Linked DNA regions of Homo sapiens: regions 2, 3, 4, 5, 6 and 7 are each linked to region 1. Evidence: promoter capture Hi-C in 16 types of primary human blood cells and fetal thymus (Javierre and others, 2016). All regions are on one chromosome and are shown on one strand. The core of a region is centred on a gene start or on the middle of the fragment in contact, and the rest is flanking DNA. Distances in the headings are between cores, read along the strand shown. Region 1 holds the start of RWDD1 (RWD domain containing 1). Region 2 holds the start of COL10A1 (collagen type X alpha 1 chain). Region 3 overlaps NT5DC1 (5'-nucleotidase domain containing 1). Region 4 overlaps NT5DC1 (5'-nucleotidase domain containing 1). Region 5 overlaps NT5DC1 (5'-nucleotidase domain containing 1). Region 6 overlaps NT5DC1 (5'-nucleotidase domain containing 1). Region 7 has its middle 11 kb from the start of TSPYL1.

What was found. The method cuts DNA at HindIII sites, captures the fragments that hold promoters and counts their contacts. A CHiCAGO score of 5 or more calls a contact.
Region 2: a contact is called between a fragment that was not itself captured here and the fragment with the promoter of RWDD1 in region 1, in 1 of 17 cell types (total B cells). The highest score is 5.4, in total B cells.
Region 3: a fragment that was not itself captured here is called in contact with the fragment with the promoter of RWDD1 in region 1 in 1 of 17 cell types (total B cells); the score reaches 5.1 in total B cells.
Region 4: a fragment that was not itself captured here is called in contact with the fragment with the promoter of RWDD1 in region 1 in 14 of 17 cell types (naive B cells, total B cells, fetal thymus and 11 more); the score reaches 19.4 in naive B cells.
Region 5: a fragment that was not itself captured here is called in contact with the fragment with the promoter of RWDD1 in region 1 in 2 of 17 cell types (total B cells and naive B cells); the score reaches 6.9 in total B cells.
Region 6: a contact is called between a fragment that was not itself captured here and the fragment with the promoter of RWDD1 in region 1, in 7 of 17 cell types (neutrophils, total B cells, M1 macrophages and 4 more). The highest score is 10.2, in neutrophils.
Region 7: a contact is called between a fragment that was not itself captured here and the fragment with the promoter of RWDD1 in region 1, in 15 of 17 cell types (naive CD8 T cells, total B cells, fetal thymus and 12 more). The highest score is 17.6, in naive CD8 T cells.

Annotation. Positions count from the first base shown.
Region 1 is chr6:116,570,066-116,572,765 of GRCh38, reverse strand. It overlaps RWDD1 (RWD domain containing 1), which reads right to left and starts at 1,262. Exons shown (of 7, transcript NM_015952.4): 1 at 1,111-1,262. The coding sequence starts at 1,183. RefSeq lists enhancers at 1,008-1,107, 1,328-1,657, 1,688-1,867 and a silencer at 1,208-1,287. The HindIII fragment of the contact is 4,586 bases long and covers 1-2,700 here.
Region 2 is chr6:116,125,953-116,128,652 of GRCh38, reverse strand. The region is part of intron 6 of NT5DC1 (5'-nucleotidase domain containing 1); the gene reads right to left. COL10A1 (collagen type X alpha 1 chain) reads left to right here and starts at 2,521. Exons shown (of 3, transcript NM_000493.4): 1 at 2,521-2,600. RefSeq lists a silencer at 193-487. The HindIII fragment of the contact is 2,449 bases long and covers 106-2,554 here.
Region 3 is chr6:116,164,098-116,166,797 of GRCh38, reverse strand. All of the region lies in intron 6 of NT5DC1 (5'-nucleotidase domain containing 1), which reads right to left. It also overlaps a transcript of COL10A1 not described here. Among named protein-coding and RNA genes, the nearest start is that of COL10A1, 39 kb to the right of the region's middle. The HindIII fragment of the contact is 1,434 bases long and covers 550-1,983 here.
Region 4 is chr6:116,224,901-116,227,600 of GRCh38, reverse strand. The region is part of intron 8 of NT5DC1 (5'-nucleotidase domain containing 1); the gene reads right to left. Among named protein-coding and RNA genes, the nearest start is that of TSPYL4, 28 kb to the left of the region's middle. The HindIII fragment of the contact is 5,275 bases long and covers 1-2,700 here.
Region 5 is chr6:116,185,943-116,188,663 of GRCh38, reverse strand. All of the region lies in intron 6 of NT5DC1 (5'-nucleotidase domain containing 1), which reads right to left. It also overlaps a transcript of COL10A1 not described here. Among named protein-coding and RNA genes, the nearest start is that of COL10A1, 61 kb to the right of the region's middle. The HindIII fragment of the contact is 2,343 bases long and covers 194-2,536 here.
Region 6 is chr6:116,204,643-116,207,342 of GRCh38, reverse strand. The region is part of intron 6 of NT5DC1 (5'-nucleotidase domain containing 1); the gene reads right to left. It also overlaps a transcript of COL10A1 not described here. Among named protein-coding and RNA genes, the nearest start is that of TSPYL4, 48 kb to the left of the region's middle. The HindIII fragment of the contact is 1,304 bases long and covers 783-2,086 here.
Region 7 is chr6:116,290,053-116,292,772 of GRCh38, reverse strand. It overlaps a transcript of DSE not described here. Among named protein-coding and RNA genes, the nearest start is that of TSPYL1, 11 kb to the right of the region's middle. The HindIII fragment of the contact is 6,300 bases long and covers 1-2,720 here.

The sequences.
Region 1 (2,700 bases), core at 13-2,512:
GGGTTGGAATTTATAAGTTAAAGTAATATACCTTACACTATAAATTCTGACTATCAACGATAGGCAACACTCAAAGGAAAGGATGGGGAATGTAAATGCACACACCTAGGTTCTACTCACTCATATTGGCTTTATTTGACCGCTTCTCAAATCTCAGAGGAGCCATATTGATATAGTTATGTAGCATTTTTATAATCATCCGAAGCATGGCTTAATAGAGAAATCTCGTCCTCTAAATTATACCTAATGAACTTCTCATTATAATATTTTACATTAGCCCAACCTACCAAGTAATCTTCTGCTCTCTCAATCTCAGCTGGAGCTGAATCCCAAGTCCCATATGTCTGGAAAGTGAAAGAACAGGCAAGCGTTCTGGACGTATAACTCAGTACCAGCCCTGCCGCTAACTCGCTGGCGGACAGTACAGAGCAAGCCACTTAGCTTTCCTGAACCCCCATGACCTTGGCTTGGAGCAGGAGCCCCAGGATAGATGATGTTTAATCTCCCTTCCAATCTAACAACCTATGAATTTATAGCAGAACGGAAATTTGGGCCACATTATCCATTAGGCATTCTGCTGAATGCCAGATTTTTTTTTTTTTCATAAGAAAAGAAACCCGACAGACTTCAGGGACTATGCTACTCTCAAAACCGATTTGAGTAACTGAAAACAGCACTCTGAATCCTATAAACTAAAACAGCATCGTATGAAAAACAGTTTCTACCTTAATAAAGCTAAAAATGTGAAAACTAACATTCTTGCGGCTGTGGAAAAACGAATCGCACTTGGAGTATTTTTTCTCTTAATGTATTATAAATCTCAGGTTGCTGTAGGTTACACAGAAACCAAAGTAATCCCGACTCAATTTTCAGGCCTGACACCCTCCAACATCACCCGGACTTTTAGATTTCCGGGAACAAGCAGAGAAGGAGAAAAAGTCACTGGGTTGCTGGTAAGTGACTGAAGAACTTGAGGAGTGGAGGGCAAGGTGGCCGCGCGGCCTCAAGGTCCCCTTCTCCACCCCAACCTATGAGGCCCAGAGCTGCGGCAGCTCCTGCCCGTCCTACTCCACCTCGGGGCGGCTACAGGCTTGCGGCCGCGGGAGTCACCTGTGAAGGAGTCAGGGTAGATGGACTCCAGGGCCTCCAGCTCGTTGCGCTGCTCCTCGCCGTAATCTGTCATCGTGGCCCTTGCTCTTGCCCATAGATCGCCCAGACACCTAGGCGGCGCGCAGCAGCCCAGACAGCTGCCGCGCCGGGAGAGCGGGCGGCGGCCAGGCGGGCGCAGGCGCAGAGTCCCCGGCTGGAAGGCCCAGGGCCCAAAGCCAGACCCGGCTTGCTTAACTGCAGCTCCGCGCCGGCCTCCGCCTGCTCCCTACTTCCACGTTCGACTCGTTCTGCCTGGCCAGGGGGCACTGATTTGCTGCCTGTCCCACACTCGCTCGGGACTTGCTGGGACGGTGCGCGCGGTCTGGCATTCGCCAAGGACACCTACAGCCGGCTCCTGGGCTTTGCAGGGCCTGAGCCTTAGAAGCCTCTCAGCGCTGCATCCTCGCTCGATGAGTCTGGGCTGAAAGGCCGGCATCGCGCGTCAGTGAAGGATAGTGTCGCTGGTGGCCGGGCTGGGGCGAGGGGCGTCCGATGCCTTCACCTTTTCTGGTTTCCGGTTTGACGCCGTGGCGTAGGTGCTGCGGGCTTGCAACCTAGTGTGGACTGGTGGGGCTCAGGAGATTTCTGAGCTTCTCGAACTCCGTATTGCTTGGCGTCCTACGGGAGTTGGACGAGAGGCTGGGACCAGTGTAGATTCCACTGGGCAGGGGAGCAAAAGCTCTGCACTGCCTTGAATGAGTATGGAAGGGTCGGTCTAACTGCTTAATAAGTCGGGGTGGATCCAGGAGGGAGAAATAGACCGGAGGTCCGGCTTCTCGGTTCAGATCTTTAGGCTTAACTTCTGATTTTGTGAAATGAACGCAGCTGGACGTATGATAGATCTCAAGATGTCTGTGATTGTGTATTTGTGAATTGATGAAAGGAATGTAGATCTCAGTAATAACAATTATCATATGCAATGTAAAAATTGCAGTACCCCGAGAAATGTTGAGAACCTTTAATTTGGTAATACGACTTCCAAGAATAAACTTGAGCAAGTAGCATGCATCTGTGATCTCCAAAATCATTGCAGCAATTACAAAGAAAATTTTCAAAGAACCATGATGGCAAAAGCTAAGAAAATGGCTAAATAAACATGGTTAGCTTTATGAAAATGATATTAAAAACTATGGTAACAATAATAAAGGATCCCATGTTCCTTTATTATATTATTGCGCTAAGTCGAAAAATGGAAAATTTTAAGAAAATACTCAAAAGCTGTTGCCCACTTTTCTGTATTTTTCTTTGTTTTGATTTCTCTGTATTAAAGCTGGTTTCACTGGTATAGTGGGAGGAACACTTTTTAAATGAAAGATTCCTAATGATGAAGCCCCTGAAGCACCAGAAGGCACCTTGATCTTTTATTGAGGAGTGCTGCTTACCTATAGCAGAGGAACACTTTGATACTGATTCCGTGTTTACGGTATTAAGGGTTGATTTCAGGCGTTCTTTTAAACTTTAATGAAAAAGTGGAGTCTCCTAACTATGATGACAATCAAATAAAATACATAAAGTAACTTTGCAAGTATAAGTTGCTCATTTTTTTTGGAT
Region 2 (2,700 bases), core at 81-2,580, 440 kb after region 1:
TTATTCACCCAGTATTTATCTTAATGTCTAACACTTAAGAAGCACTTAAGAAACATAAGGTGAATTAATTAACGATCCACAGATGTACAAATGAATAGGCAAGCTTAATAGTAGCTAACTGCCAGATGTGAAAAAAATCATTATTCATATTTGATATTTAAAAAAATTACTCAGGTTATAGAGTTTAAAGAGTATGGCTCTCTGTTTTGAGTGGAATGGGTTTCCTTCATAAAGCCACAGACTAGTCACTTCAAACAGCTACAAGTAAACACCCAGAGTAAAAATAGTTTTAAATACACAATTGGGTGGGGTGTGGCTAGAAAATATTCTGATTCTACAATCTGTTTTGGACAAGACAGTGCTTCTTATGTGACTAACAAAGCAAACAGCAGTCAGATTCCTTGTGCTGAAATAAGTACACTATTTGCAAAAAGGGTTGAATGTCCAAGGCTTATTCAATAAGGACACCACATTTTCCAAAACTAAAGGGGAGTATAGAATGACAAATACCCACATATATTTACATATCCCTAAAAGAAGACATACAACCTCCTGGTATGGATTTTTTTGTGTCTCTAATAAGTACTAACTGGAGCCAAGTCTACCATCTGACCATGGAGAACAGCAGAATACCTCAAGCACAGGAATAATCTAATTTTAAAACTGGGAGGAGCTTAGAAACCACCTAGTCCAAACTTTTCATTGTGTTGATAAAAAACAGACACCCAGAGAGGTTAAAGTGAAAGGCTCTGAAAATTGTTGCAATAGCCACAGATGAACAAATGGTATACACAGGGGCATAGCACTATGTATTAAGAGCTGAGAATTAGTCTTCTGAACGTTCACGAGTGATAACTAACAGGGTATCAGTCTCAATTATAAGCAAATAGCAGTATGTGTGTGCATGTGTATCACCATATATACACACAAAATATTAAAATATATATTTTAATAATTCCTTTCAAAACAAATTCAACCTAGCATTCAAAAGCATCCATAAAGTTACCTCACCTACTTTTTCAAAATTGTGTCCAAATGGGCCATAAGCCAAAAGGCAGGTGTTTTCTCTCACTTATCTTTTGTAGTCTCCTACAGATGTAGCAGAGTACATATTATAATTACAAAAGCTATTCCATATATAATTTCCAAATGATGAATTATAAACTTTCCTATTTTGTTATTCTAAACTGCTATAAGAAACATATTTTATATGTATCTATGAGTATTATACAGAGATATATACAACAATGTAAATTTTTTTAATATGGCAATCAACAAAATGCTTACAAGCAAGAGGAGAGAGGCAATGAGATGCCTTATCCATTTACATTTCCATAAAGGGCTATACAAGGCTTTGTTTAAAATACAGAAAATTGCTTGAAGGGGAGAGAAAGGGAAAAGAAAAAGGACAAATCTTTAGTTCATTCACTGGTCAAACTTTCAATTATTTCAATTATTGATTAGTCCTGAATCCATACTACTTTAATTCTGTGGAGGTAGAAAAATGATGTGTCTATGCCTGTGTATGGAATTGTCCTCCTCAACCAGTTCACCTGCATAGTCAATTTGATTTTGATTCAAAACGATGAAATTAAATAAGATGAAAAATTTGGACTCTCAACTTCCCACCTTTATTAGATTTTTTAGGATCCTAAAAACTGATTTTAAAGGCTTCCTAATATTGTTAAACAGAGTCTAACTACCAAAATTGACAACAATAGTGTTTACTTCCACCTTTGAGGGAAAGTGTTTCTAATTGGGATGATTCCTAACTGCAAGTTAAGCCAATAATATTTTTTTTAAGCTGAAAGCAAAGTTTGAAAATTTTTTTCTCCTGAAATAAACACAGCAATCTTATGTAAATTAACATAATATGAGATTATCAAATTAAGGGGTTTTTGCAAACTCTACTGCAACTCTAAAGTAAACCCAAATTTAAGCAAGAAAATCTGAAGTCATTTACTGAATATAGCGTAGTGTTGTGAATAAGGGATCTAAATCCTAAAAGCCTAAAAGTAATTAAGAATTGGGGTCAGCTATTTTCACAAAAATTTATGAATATTAATAGACACATTGATAACTTTATGTAATAACTCAATAATTTAGATGATGGTCTAAATCCAGTACCCCCTTCAAGGAATTTTATCCGCTTTTATGTACTACCACATATTATATAATATCAACCAATTAACATAAGAATGTGCTTTTCAAAAATAAAAAGGGGGTATCATCATTCCACCGTGAACCAGCCTGAACACTAGAGTATTAATTAATAAAATAGAATCACAGACAAAGACGGTCCTTGGTTAAAACTATTAATATATATTTAAGACAATGGGTTTATTTTTAAATAAGAAAACAAGGAAAAGGAGAGCCCAGCCCGATCTTGTGTGCCTACCCAATAGAACTTTCCACCATAATTAGTGCTTACCAACTTTGAGGGGAGGAGCTTAAGCTCAGGGTAACCTCATGTAGTAAGGGAAAAACAGTATAAATACCACTGAACAGCTCTTGAGAGGCACCTTCTGCACTGCTCATCTGGGCAGAGGAAGCTTCAGAAAGCTGCCAAGGCACCATCTCCAGGAACTCCCAGCACGCAGGTAAGCGTACGCTTACTGGTGGACTTCCATGTTAACTTGCTTGGAAAGAAACTTTAAAGATTTAAATACTTGAGTTTTCTCAAGTATTAGAAGTATTAAA
Region 3 (2,700 bases), core at 17-2,516, 410 kb after region 1:
GGGAACCATTTTTATCTCTTACATAATTTAAGTAACTACTAGATAAAAGATGAAAAGTCTCTGAAACTTTAGTAGAAATTTCTCATGGATTTAGATAAATAACTGAATTAACTTTTGAAATACACTACTGACTTGGTTTTAAGAGTGTTTTTTATCAGCATGTAGAAAAGGATGTCAGCAGTGAAAACCTCAAGGGAAATATCTGGGAAACTGGGTAAATGGAGATCGATGCCAGGAGTTTCTCACTCTCTGATGGCCCAACACTCAGCCTCTAGCAATTCATCACAATTACTAGTCAAATATCCACTATTCCCAATACCATTTACAGAAGACAAAATCCTTCTTCCATTGTGATTTCTTAGCACCTTTGTTGAAGATTGGTTGATCCATTCCTTTATGTTTTTAATTAGAACTGAATATCCAACCACCATGTATCAAAATTGTTGGTTAGGAGGAATCTGGATGGCTGACTAGGGATTTTGGATGTCAGTTATCCTCAGAGAGAAGATCAAAGACATAGATGAATGGTCATGATCTGAATGGAAAGCTTAGGGAAGATAGCCAGGATCTGTTGGAGACCCCACTGGTTGATGTGGGGTTGCAGAAAAGGAAAGCAGCAAGAGTCTCGCAGAGATTGACTCCCGAGAACCTCTGAATCCCGCCTGAAGGGTAGGTTGGGGTGCTTCTCTTCTCCCTTCACCCCTGCAATAAGCTGCTGACTGCCAAATTGTCAGGGAGCCTTTCTACCTTCATGACCCCAGGCAATGCTGTCAGTGCGGATTTAGGATCTTCCTGGGGACAGAGCACAGAGTGGCTAGTTTGTGCAGGTATCCCCTCACTCCCCTCAAGCCTGAGCTGAGAGGACAGACACCATACTGGTTGTGCATTCATTGTGGGCTACTACCCTGCATGGGGAATCTCAGCCCAAGTTGTTGCAATCACCAGTACCCTGCAAACATAGCCCAGAACCTGCTCTGACTTGACAACCACAGGGGACCAGCAGGTCCCTGGGGAGCTGTGGGATTTCCAGACATTCAGCCCTAAGCACAGGCTGCCCCTAGAAGAGGGGGAAGTGCGGCCCACTAAGAACCCCCTTGGGACAAAGGAAATGCAGGTACAAACTGATCACTGAATGGGGTGGTACTGGTGGTTGGTAACAGATGTAGAGGGGGGTCATCTCCTGCTCCCTCAGTCCACTGTTGTGGATGTAGGAGAGGCATTTTTCGAATTAACCCAGTCAGACAAAAATAGAAAAGAGAATTTTAAAAAATGAACAAATCCTTTTAAAAATACAGGACTATGTGAAGTCACCAAATCTATAATTTATAGGTATTCCTGAGAAAGAAGAAGAAAAAGTAAGCAATTTGGAAAACATATTGGTAGAAAGAATTCAGGAAAATTTCCCTGATCTTGTTAGAGATATAGAAATCCATGTGGAAGAAATCCAGAACACCAGTGAGATATGATATAAGGTGAACATCACCAAGGTATATAGTTATCAGACTATCCAAGGTCAATGCTAAAGAAAAAATCTTAAACGCCACTAGAAAAAAGGATCAAATCACCTATAAAGGAAATCCTATCAGACTAACAGCAGATTTCTTAGCAGAAACTGACAAGCCAGAAGAGACAGGGATCTAGTTTTAGACTTCTTAAAGAAAAATAATGCCAGCCAATAATTTTTTTTTTTTTTTTTTTTCTGAGACGGAGTCTCGCTCTGTCGCCTAGACTGAAGCGCAGTGGTGCAATCTCAGCTCACTGCAAGCTCCGCCTCCCAGGTTCACGCCATTCTCCTGCCCCAGCCTCCCGAGTAGCTGGGACCACAGGCACCCACCACCATGTCCGCTAATTTTTTGTATTTTATTTATTTATTTTTTTAGTAGAGACGGGGTTTCACCATGTTAGCCAGGATGGTCTCGATCTCCTGACCTTATGATCTGCCTGCCTCGGCCTCCCAAAGCGTGTATCTTTTTAAACTAAGCTTCATAAATGAAGCAGAAATAAAGTATTTCCCAAACAAACAAATGCTAAGGAAATTTGTCACCACTAGACCAGTACACCAAAAATGCTAAAAGGAAACAGAAAGATGATACTTGCTACCACAAAAGCACACGTAAGTACAAAGTTCACACATCCTATAAAATAATTACATAATTGAGGCTACAAAGCAACTAGCTAACAATATTAGGCAAGGAACAAAACCTCACATATGCATATTAACCTTGAACATAAATACTTGAAAGAGATAGATTAGCAAATTGGGTAAGAAAAACAAGATTCAACCATCTGCTGCCTAAAAGAGACCCACATAATGTATAAAGACATACACAAGCTCAAAGTAAAGGGGTGGAGAAAGATATATCATGCAAATGGGGAACAAAAAAGACCAGGGGTTGCTATTCTTATGTCAGATAAAATAGACTTTAAACCAACAAGAGTAAAAAAAGACAAAGAAGGGTATGATACATGATAAAGACTTCAACTCAATAAGAAGATTTAACTATCCTAAATATATACATTACCCAACACCAGAGCACCCAGATTTATAAAAGTACTACTACACCTAAGAAAATAAAATAAAAAGCCATACAATAATAGTGGGAAACTTCGACATCCCAGAGAAAACACCAAACAGATCACTGAAGGAGAAAACTATCAAAGAAACTTGACTTAAAACGGGCTCTGCCAAATGGATAGACA
Region 4 (2,700 bases), core at 71-2,570, 350 kb after region 1:
GGAATCCTTGTACATTCTTGGTGGGATTGTAAATTAGTTTAGCCATTACGGAAAAAAGTGTGGAGGTTCTTCAAAATAATTAAAAACAGAACTACCATATGATCCAGCAACTCCAATACTGAGTATATATGCAAAATGTATGAAATTGGTATGTTGAGCTATCTGCACTCCCATGTTCATTACAGCATTATTCACAAAAGATATGAAATCAACCGAAATGTCCATTAGCAGATTAAAGGATAAAGAAAATATGGTATATATACATAATGGAATACTATTTGACCTTAACAAGAAAGAAATCCTGTCATTTGTGACAACATGGATGAACCTGGAGGACACAATGTTAAGCAAAATAAGCCAGGCACAGAAAGACAAATACCATATGATCTCACTTACATTTGGAATGTAAAAAAGCCAAACTCATAGAATCAGAAAGTAAAATGGTGGTTATGTGAGGCTAGGGGTAGGGGTATTAGGAGATGTTGGTCAAAGGACACAAAATTTCAGGTAGGAGGAATAAATCCATAAATCCAAGAAATATATTGTACAAAATGCAGAGTTAAAAATAATATATTGTATATTTGAAATTTACTAAGAGAATAGATTTTAAGTGTTCTTACCACACACACAAAAAATGATAATGTGAGGTAATACCTATTTAAATAGTATCATTTAGCCATTCTACAATCTATATATATATCAAAATACCATGTTGTACAACATAAATATATAATTTTTACTTGTCAATTAAAAAATAAATGAAATACAAATTAGAGAAAGTAGAAATTAAAAAACTAAGTGTTTATACAACCCAAAATGTAAAACAATTTTTTAAAATGGTATATTTATTATCAGGATGTGCTTATTTTTAAAGTTTAGATTCCTAATATTTCCATACCATAAATTCAATCAAAAAGACTTTCAAGTCTTTTGATGAGTATAATATTTAAAAATATATAGTTTGGATAAACATCATTATTATGTCAGCCCTCAAATCCAATTGTACTATACAACTAACAGAAAATACTGCACAGAAGTCTTAAGATAGGTACTTCTAAAGTAATCGTTTTTTAAAAACTCCACCCTTTTTCTCAGGATACTCTCAATTAAATAGAGAAAAACTACATAAAATGCTGTAAATTGTCAGCATATTTAATGCATTTATAATTTCCAACATGTTAAAAAAAACTTGGTATATTTTTAACGTGCAGTTTTCCATTAATTGTATCTTTGTGTGAAATTTTAATAAAAATCTTATGGAATGGCATAAATACTACTATGGGTATAAAAGGGGTATAGATTTTCTTGGAACAAAATATGCAAACCCCACAAAAATAAAAATAAAAACAAATATTTATTGGGTACTTACTTATATATTTAAATGTAAGTTTGTAAAGTAGGGAAAAACATTTAAATTTTTTTCTGGTTTAATTATAAGAATATTATTAGAATTCTTGATAACAGATTATTTCTTAATATCAAGGATTTTATTATATAAGACTTTAAACCAATATATAAAAACAACATCAACCTATTTCTTTGTACTAGACTAGGGTTTCTTAGCCTTGGCACTACTGAGATTTGGGGCTAGATAATTCTTCGTCGTTGGGGGGTGCTGTCCTGTGTGCTGTAGGCTGCTTAGCAGCACACCCAGCCTCCACCCCCCTCCAAAGTTGCGACAACCAAAAACGTCTCCAGACATTGCCAAATTTGCACTGAAGGGCAAAACTGCCACCGTTGAAAACCACTGCAGCAGATCATTCTCATCAGCACATATACATATTCCAGTATCTTCGATCTTAAAAAAATAAAATATGCCCTTAATCCTACACTGTCTTCTAGCTAAAACCTCAATTCTTTGACTGCCTTTAGAGCTAAAATTCTAGAAAGAGCTGCACATATACCCTGGTTCCATACCTCCAATGAACTACTCAAGATACTGCAATTTAGTTTCTATCCCACCACTCTATGGCAACTGTTCACTGAGGCACTAGTGATCTCCATCTTGTCCACCCCAGGGAAGATTTCTCCTTCCTCATTTCAGTGGACTTTTTCTGTAGCATTTGGACTAGCTGGCTACCCTTTCCTCTTTCCTCTGGCTTCTGAACACGTATTCTACTGTTTTCCCTACTATAATCTATCTGCTGCCACACTGCACTCTTTCTTCTCTATCTTTAATATTAGAGAATGTCAGGGCTTGGTCCAGGCCTTTTGCCTATCTACATTCTCTCAATATTTGGTTTCATATAATCCCCTGGCTTCAAATACCTATCTATGAGCTGATTACTCCCAATACATATCTTGAGCCTAGACTTGTTCCCTTGGACTCCAGGCATATTTATACAATTTCCTAATTGATAGTGACAGTTACATAACTCATAGGCATCTCAAAATTAACATGTTGAAAAATGAGTTCTTAACAGATATAACCCCTACTCCACACAACTTTATCCTCTGTATTTTTCCCCAAGTCTGTAAATGGTACCACCATCTACTCACTTGCTCATTTGAGGAAAAAGAAAAATCAACCACCTGGAAGTTATTTTTTATTACTCCTTTCTTTTTGTCTGCTGTTTCTTTAAGTATCACCGAGCCCTCTGTGTTTTCCAACTCCATAATGTATTTAAATGTATCTACCTCTCTCCATTTCCAGTACTGTCGCTCTGGACCAAACCACGACAGTTATCTTACTAGGGACGC
Region 5 (2,721 bases), core at 116-2,615, 380 kb after region 1:
TGAAAGGTAATTGCTATCCTCATATCTATGGTACATCCTTACTTTTCTGGCTTTACTACCTAATTATGCTCTAGTGTAACCCATTTTAATATCTATTTTATAAATGCAACCATAGAATATGTATATCCTGTATTACTGGCTTTTTCTCTCTCATTTTCTGTTTTTAAGATTCATTCATGTTGTTCATAAAGCTTCATTTTCATTGATGAATAGAATGTCACTGTATGACACACTGCATAGCAACTGCACTATTGAGGGATATTTGGGCTGTCTCTAATTTGGTGTAATAGTGAATGCCACTAAGAACATTCTGGATGGTATATATTGCAGCCTAATATGGCTGTGTCATAGGGAATGCTCACTTTCAACTTTATAGGATAATACTCAACAATTTTCAAAACCAACTCAACAATTTACACTCCCACCAGCAGTTTAAGGGTTCTCTTTGCTTCACATCCTCACCAACCACTGAAATCACTAGATTCTTTAATTCCAACTATTCTGATGGATATCTAGTGGTACCTCATTGAACTTTAATTAGCACTCTCATGACTGTTAATAAGCATAAGCACATTTTCATGTTTATTGGCCATTTAGAGTTCCCTATTTGTAAACTGCCTGTCAAGACTTTTGTTCATTTTCTACTGGGTTGCTGTCTTCCTGTTACTGATTTATAGGTCTTTTTTACACTAGATAAAAGTCTTTTTATCATTATATGTATTCCAAATATCTTCTCTTCTATAACTTGCCCTTTCGTTCTTAGTAATTTTTTATGAAGAGAGACGTTTAATGTTTGTCAAATTTATTCACTTTTCCTTTACAATCAATCAATACTGTTTCTATCCTATTTAAGAAATATTTCATTATCTTTAAGCTATGAAGCTATTTTTCTCAGATTTTCTTCTGATAGCTTTACTGATTTGCCTTTCATATTTGTTTCTATAATCCATGTGAAATTGATTTTTGTCTAATATGTGAGTAGGGATCAAGTTTTATGAATTTCTACATAGATTTCCAACTCTCCAGGCACCCTTTATGACAGTCCTTTCCCCACTGCTCTGCTGTACCTGTTCTGTCATCAAGCATGTGTCTACAACTGCAAAGGTCTTTTCTGGCATCTCCGGTTCAGTGATCTTCTAGTTGTCAGTCTTTATACCAAAAGCACTCTGACCAAATTACTGTAACTTTAAAATAAGCCATGAATTATTTGCTAGTGTCTTGTAGGACAGACCCTCTTGCCCTGTTCTTCATGAGTGTCTTGGCTCTTCATGGCCCTTTTCATTTCCATATAAATTGTGGCATGAGCTTCAGTTTTCTATAAAGAAACTTGTTAAAATTTTGGTTGGACTTAACAAAAATACAACTAATGACCCTCACAGAGTCCACTTCGCTCCCCTGCTACCTTTCCTGGAGCAGGTGCTGGTAGCCACAGCTAAGAGACCTGAATACAGATCACATCACAGGACTCTGTGCAGACACTTCCCAGTACCAGATCAAAGCCCAGTAGCTCTGCTGGGTGGCTAGATTCAGAGGAGAAATAGCATCACTGCAGTCTGGCTCTCAGGGAGCCATTTCTAGGGGAAAGGGGAGAACACCACAACAAGGGAGCACCCTGTGGGACAAAAGAATCTGAACGGTAGCCCTTGAGTCCCGGATCTACCATCTGACATAGTTTACCCAAATGAGAAGGAACCAGAAAAACAATTCTGGTAATATGACAAACATGGTTAACACCCCCAAAAGATAACACTAGCTCACCAGCAATGGATCCAAACTAAGACTAAATCTCTGAATTGCCAGAAAAAGAATTTAGAAGATCAACTATTAAGTCAATCAAGGAGGCACAAGTCCAACTTAAAGAAATCAAAAAAATGATACAGGATACGAATGAAAAAATCTCCAGTGAAATACATGGCATAAATAAAAAAGCAATCACAATTTCTGGAAGTCAAGGACACACTTAGAGAAATGCAAAATGCACTGGAAACTCGCAGCAACAGAATCGAACAAGTAGAAGAAAAAGTCAGAGCTCGAAGACAAGGCTTTCAAATTAACTCAATCCAACAAAGACAAAGAAAAAAGAATTAAATAAAAATGAACAAAGCCTCCAATAAGTTTGGGATTATGTTAAATGACCAAACCTAAGAACAACTGGTGTTCCTGAGGAAGAAGAGAAATCTAAAAGTCTGGGAAACATGTTTGAGGGAATAATCGAGGACAACTTCCCCAGCCTTGCTAGAGATCTAGGCATCCAAATACAAGCAGCTCTGGGAAGAACACCTGGGAAATTCATCGCAAAAAGATCACCACCTAGGCACACAGTCACCAGGTTATCTAAAGTGAAGATGAAAAAAAAAAAAAATCTTAAGAGCTATGAGACAAAAGCATCAGGTAACTTTTAAAGGAAAACCTATCAGATTAACAGCAGATTTCTCAGCAGAAACCCTACAAGCTAGACAGCATTGGGGTCCTACCTTTGTTCTCCTTAAACAAAATAATTATCATATAAGAATTTTGTATCCAGTGAAACTAAGCTTCATAAATGAAGGGAAGACACAGTCTTTTTTAGACAAACAAATGCTGCGAGAATTTGCCATTACCAAAAGAGAACTACAAGAACCACTATAAGAAGCTCTAAATCTTGAAAGAAATCCTTGAAATACACCAAAATAGAACCTCCTTAAAGCATAAATCTCACAGGATCTATAAAACAACAATACA
Region 6 (2,700 bases), core at 185-2,684, 370 kb after region 1:
CACCATAAAAAAGAAAACATTTACTTCTATAGCTATAGACTCTATTGATCTTAAAAGGAAATGCAGGTACAGAAATATTTTTTCCCATGATTTCTTAAGACATATGATCCATTTATTGAGTGCATACCTTCAATCTTTCAGAATAAAGTGGAAGAAATCTGCTGTAGGCAGGGAATAGGTATAGTTATTAATGCAGAGATATCAGCTCCCAGAGGATCTGAATAAAACAATATTGTAATAATGAAACTATTTTCTAATAAAAAATTACATTCTTTTGACCTAGGAAAAAGTTTGTTAAGAAAGCATATGACATAAGTGATCAGACTATTTATTTTTAAAAGGAAAGATGTCAATATAAATCCAGAGAACTTTAAATTCTAGAATTACTCAATAAACAAGAAGAAAACATTTAAAATCCAATTTAAATGAGACAAATATTTTGCACACAATTATTTGGCAAATGTTAGCAATAAACACTAAATGCCCTATGTGTATTCAATGAAGAAAAATGTGAGTAAAGAGGAAACTGCACTAGACTTCGACCAATTAACAGTTTATCTAAAAACTATGGCAAAGAAAATGTTTTGCCCTCCAGATATAAAATCCATTTAAAACATCAAAAGGAACTTTATCTAAATGTCTCATGCCAGCAAATTAAATCATTATGGAGCAGGGTAGGAGGGATGGCAGAAAGAAATTCATAATTTGCAGGTGACTTCATTAAGAAACAGCTGTTGCTGTTGATGTAAGGAGAGTTGCTATTCCATTTCTACTGAAAAGCTTCAGAGCACAAAGTTCTGTACCAGAGTAGACACACAGATAAAAGTATATTACAGGATATGGTCTCCAGTGTTCCTGGGTGGTATGGACCCAAATCAGACAGTCTTGAGTCAAGTCTTAGTTGTGCAATTTCCTTGGGTAAGTGCTTTAGTCATTGAGAGACTGTTGGCTTATCTATAAAATGATCACAGTTATAACACTCACCCCATTAGGTAATTGTGTGAATTATATGCAATGATATATGTGAAACATTTAGCACAATGCTTTACACATAGTAAAAATTTTGTGTTAGAGCTATTTTTACTTTAACAAGTTCCTCTGGCCTAAGTACAGGCAGTTGATTAACCACGAAATGCTATGGGCCACACTGCATCATGGAATTGCCCTGCATGGGCCCAAAATGCAAGATTTCCCTTATCAAAATGCTACTTACCTTCAAAACATATTTTGAAACATATGCTATGAAAAAACCCTAAAAGTCCTACTGAGCAGGAGGCAGGGTGGTTCTACTTTTTGTTACTTCCAGGAAAAAACACTGGGCTAGATGGTCCAATGGTCTATTAGATCATTCTCAAAGGACTGAGCAGAGAAACTTGGGGTAGCTATTAGAACCTTGGGGACCACAAAACCTAATCTCATTGTGCAGATATGAAAATGAGGCCTAGAGAGGCTGACTTGCCTATCATCATGACATAATGAGGAAAACAGCAGGATGGAATGAAAATCTTGGTCTCTTTGATTTTTTCATTACACATTCCTTACTGTCATATCTACTAATCTTATTGTTTTATCCCCTTTATTAAGACATATTACAGCCTTGTTGTAAAGATGTAAATACAATTAGTGAAAAATTTAAAATGTACCCTTTTAATACAAAATCAGAATAAAGACGGAAACTACACAAACAGCTGGTTTATTCTTAAAGAAATGTATAAAATATCTGAACAGCCTTTTTTCCCCCCCAATTTATTCCACATATTTAAGGAATTTCCTTTGGGAAGACTAGGTCTAGCAAGATCAGATGCTCTGTATATCTGTGTAGAGACTGTGGGGCTCCAGAGGGAGAAGCTGCTGACTCAGTTAAGTTCCAACCTACCAGATAACAGGGAAATTATCTTTCTAAGGTTAAATGTTATTTTAAAATTATCTCGTAATTACTCAAGTAAGATATGTGAACACTTCCAAATTTCCAAATATATGTTCTAAATTTTGAAACATAAAAAAAAAGTCTGAAGTCTTCTCTAAATAGTACTCTCAGTTTCTGGTCCCTAGTATCATTGTTGTCATTTTAGTGTCACACCAAGCTTGTCCAGCCCAGCTTATTTTGTTGTTGTTCTATTTTGTTTTGTTTTAGGCTTTTAGCAGCCTGAAGACATGGTTTTTAGTTTCTGTCTGTAATGATAAGCAGAAAAGAGGGATGAGGAAGGGGTTTTACCGGCCTAACCAGAAACAGAAACTAAGAACCCATGAATGTATTATTTGCTTGGACACTTCTGCACTGTATACTTTTCAGATAAATTTCTACGGACTTGCATACACACATATGTAGTTCACATTTTGGTGTGTATCTTTCCAATAAGGTGTTATGGACTTACACACACATATACATGTATTTTCTAGTACACATTTTGTGCAATTTGCTTTCCTCACCCAAAAAAATGACTTCAAAATCTAGCCACGTACTTAAATCTAGCCATGTAATTATAACAAATAATTACTGAGCACCTACTACACACTATTCATTGTTCTACTTGTTGAAAACATGGACAAAGTTTTTTCTCTCATAGACCTTACATTCTAGAAACGCTTCATTCTTTTTAACCACAACATTGCAATCCAGCATATGAATACAACAGTACTTTGGTGATTTTTTTCATTATAAATTCTGGAGTAAACAACATTGTATCTGAGTCCATGTAT
Region 7 (2,720 bases), core at 91-2,590, 280 kb after region 1:
TTCCTTTTAAAGGTTACGTAATATTCAGTTGTATAAACATGCCATAATTTATCCAACCTTTCTTCTACTTACTGACATTCAGTTTGTTTTCTTTTTTTTTGTTTGTTTGCTTCCTCAACACTTCAGTGTAATAATCAGATCCTTACTCTGCTCCCAACAATGCTGCTCCCTACAAACATTCTTCCCTCAACCCTGCATCTCCTTGAACTTGTCATCCAGTCTTTCCCCTTTTCTATACTGACAATTATGAAAGAACTGGCCTCACACACTATCTATATGTTCATTTATCATTCATTTTTTCAACTCTGCAATTTTTCTGTCTTGCTACTTTTCTGAAATTGCTCTCACTAAAGACACCCATGCTGTATAGCTGCCGCCCAATTCGGAAACTTTTCTTCCCAGTCTTCATCTCACTCAATATGGCTGCATCCCTTGAACCTTAGCTTCCTGAAGTCCATTCTTCCCTTGCATACTGAAACAACACTCTTCTGGTTCTTTCCCTACCTCTAATGGCTATTTCTCAGTTTCCTCTACTTGTGCCACCTCATCTGTTTCTTTCACGTCAGTGTTCCTCAGAGCTCTATTTTTGGCCTTCCTTTCTTCTTCCTCTACTTGTCTTCCTGGTGTTCTCGTCCACTCTGATGATGTCAACTATCACCTAAACACTCAAGATTTCCAAGTCTAACTGTAAACCCCACTCTTCTCCTGCTCTACAAATACCCAAATCTATCTGATCTACAAATACCCAACATCTCCCTAGAGTCACATGAAACTCTCCTTGTCTGTAGCTGAACTGTTGATCTCTCCTCCCACTACAACCCGATCTTCTTCCTGTATTCCATAACTCAATCACATTTCCACCCATCCTTGTTACCCAAACTAAACAAATCAGTCTTCCTTAACTTCTTGTCTACTTTCATATCTAGTTTTTCAATTGGTTCTACAATTTATCTGACATATTCTGTTGTCAGTTACTACATTCCTAAAGATATCCTCATCTACCCTTGCCTGCATTTTTATAATACTTCACAACTGATATCCCAGCCTTTAATCATATAACCTTCACATCATTTTCCATATGGCAATTAATATTATTTTCTGACACTGTCCATGTCAATCCCCTGTTTAAAAGCCTCCAATATCCTCTAATACCCATAGGATTAACAAATATGTATATATATAATTATATTTAATATATCATAAACATATAATAATGTATAATAAAAAGCCTTTAACTATCAGATTCCATTTTACCTAACCATCACCCCCAACTAATCTCCCTATCTTTCAGTCATTTCCTCAAGCTGGCTGGACTTCTACTTGTATTTGAGTCTTTGTTCAGGGTATTTTAGTCAACCTGGAATTTTCACCCCCTCTCTCTTATTATAATTTTATTTTTCTTATTAGGACTCATCTCAAAATTATCACCTCTGAATTCTTACCAAGCTCTCTTATCAATATAGGAATACAAATTTCCTATTCTGTGCACCCAAAGCCCTTTGTCCACATCTCTCTTGCTGGAACAACACTCTCCTAGTATTATAATTATTGGTATCATCTGGTATTATAATTGTTTGTTTCATCTGGTATTATAATTATGTGTTTCTGTGTCTATCTTCTCCACAACACTGTGGTCCCTAATGAACAAAGTCCATGACTTTCAGATTTTTGTATGCCATCCCACAACTCTTGTGTCCTGCATAAACCTCAACAAATGTTTTGAATTTAGAGAGTTTGGAAAGAACAGACGAAGTGGTCTGGTCTCAAGTCTACGCCTCCAATCTTCTGTGCTACAGATGACATTGCAGAGCACAGTGGTGGCCAGAAAATTGAGCAAACTTAGAATGGGTGCTTTGTTTACTTTTTTGCATTCATAATGCAGTTCTAGGATCAGCATTCAATCAACAATTTCACTGAGGTTGGCTGGAAAAAGTTTCTCCCTTTGGGAGAGAAGTTAGCAGTTAAGAGGATTCCTTTCTGCTTTTGGAATTAGGGAAATATTTCCAATTATGAGAGACCACAAATGGGTAGATGATATACTAAGTGGGAAGGATGCAGATTGTCTCTTCTCAGGATGAGTTTTAAGGAATTATTTCCAAATAAGACTTCATGTATTTCCTGATAACAAACCTTGATTTTCAATAATTGCTCCTGAGTGTAGAACAGTACAAATTAATAAAATATTTATTTGCTAGAGCTCTTATATCCTTGAATTAATTAATCAGCAAGTGAAATCTCTGAACCCCAAGTCTGAGAATCTAGAAATACTGTTAATTTAGAAATATCAGCAGTAGCAGGAGATATTACTTTTAAAATGTGCCCCACATTTAGTAAATGCTTCCCCTGAGGGCACTTAACTCCTAAAAACCATATGTCCTGTTTAGATTAATATATTATAATTAAAGTTTCCATGGCTGTTTAAGCTAGCCATCAGTGTGGAATCATTCAATCAATGCAGCCAACACTGCCTAAGAATCTTCTAGGTGCTAGGCACTAATGATACAGATCCAAGAAAACGAAGTTATTAGAAAATAGGTGGCAGTAACCCTTGAGTTCCCCGGTTACTGTCAAAGATTTCAAGAAATCAGAAAAGCAACATGGCATAGTACAAAGAGCTTTGAAGCCAATAAACTGGGTTTATATCCATACTCCATTACTTATTAGTCATGTAACTTTAGGCAAGTCACCTGATATCTCTGGGATTTCTTAATCTTCACAAC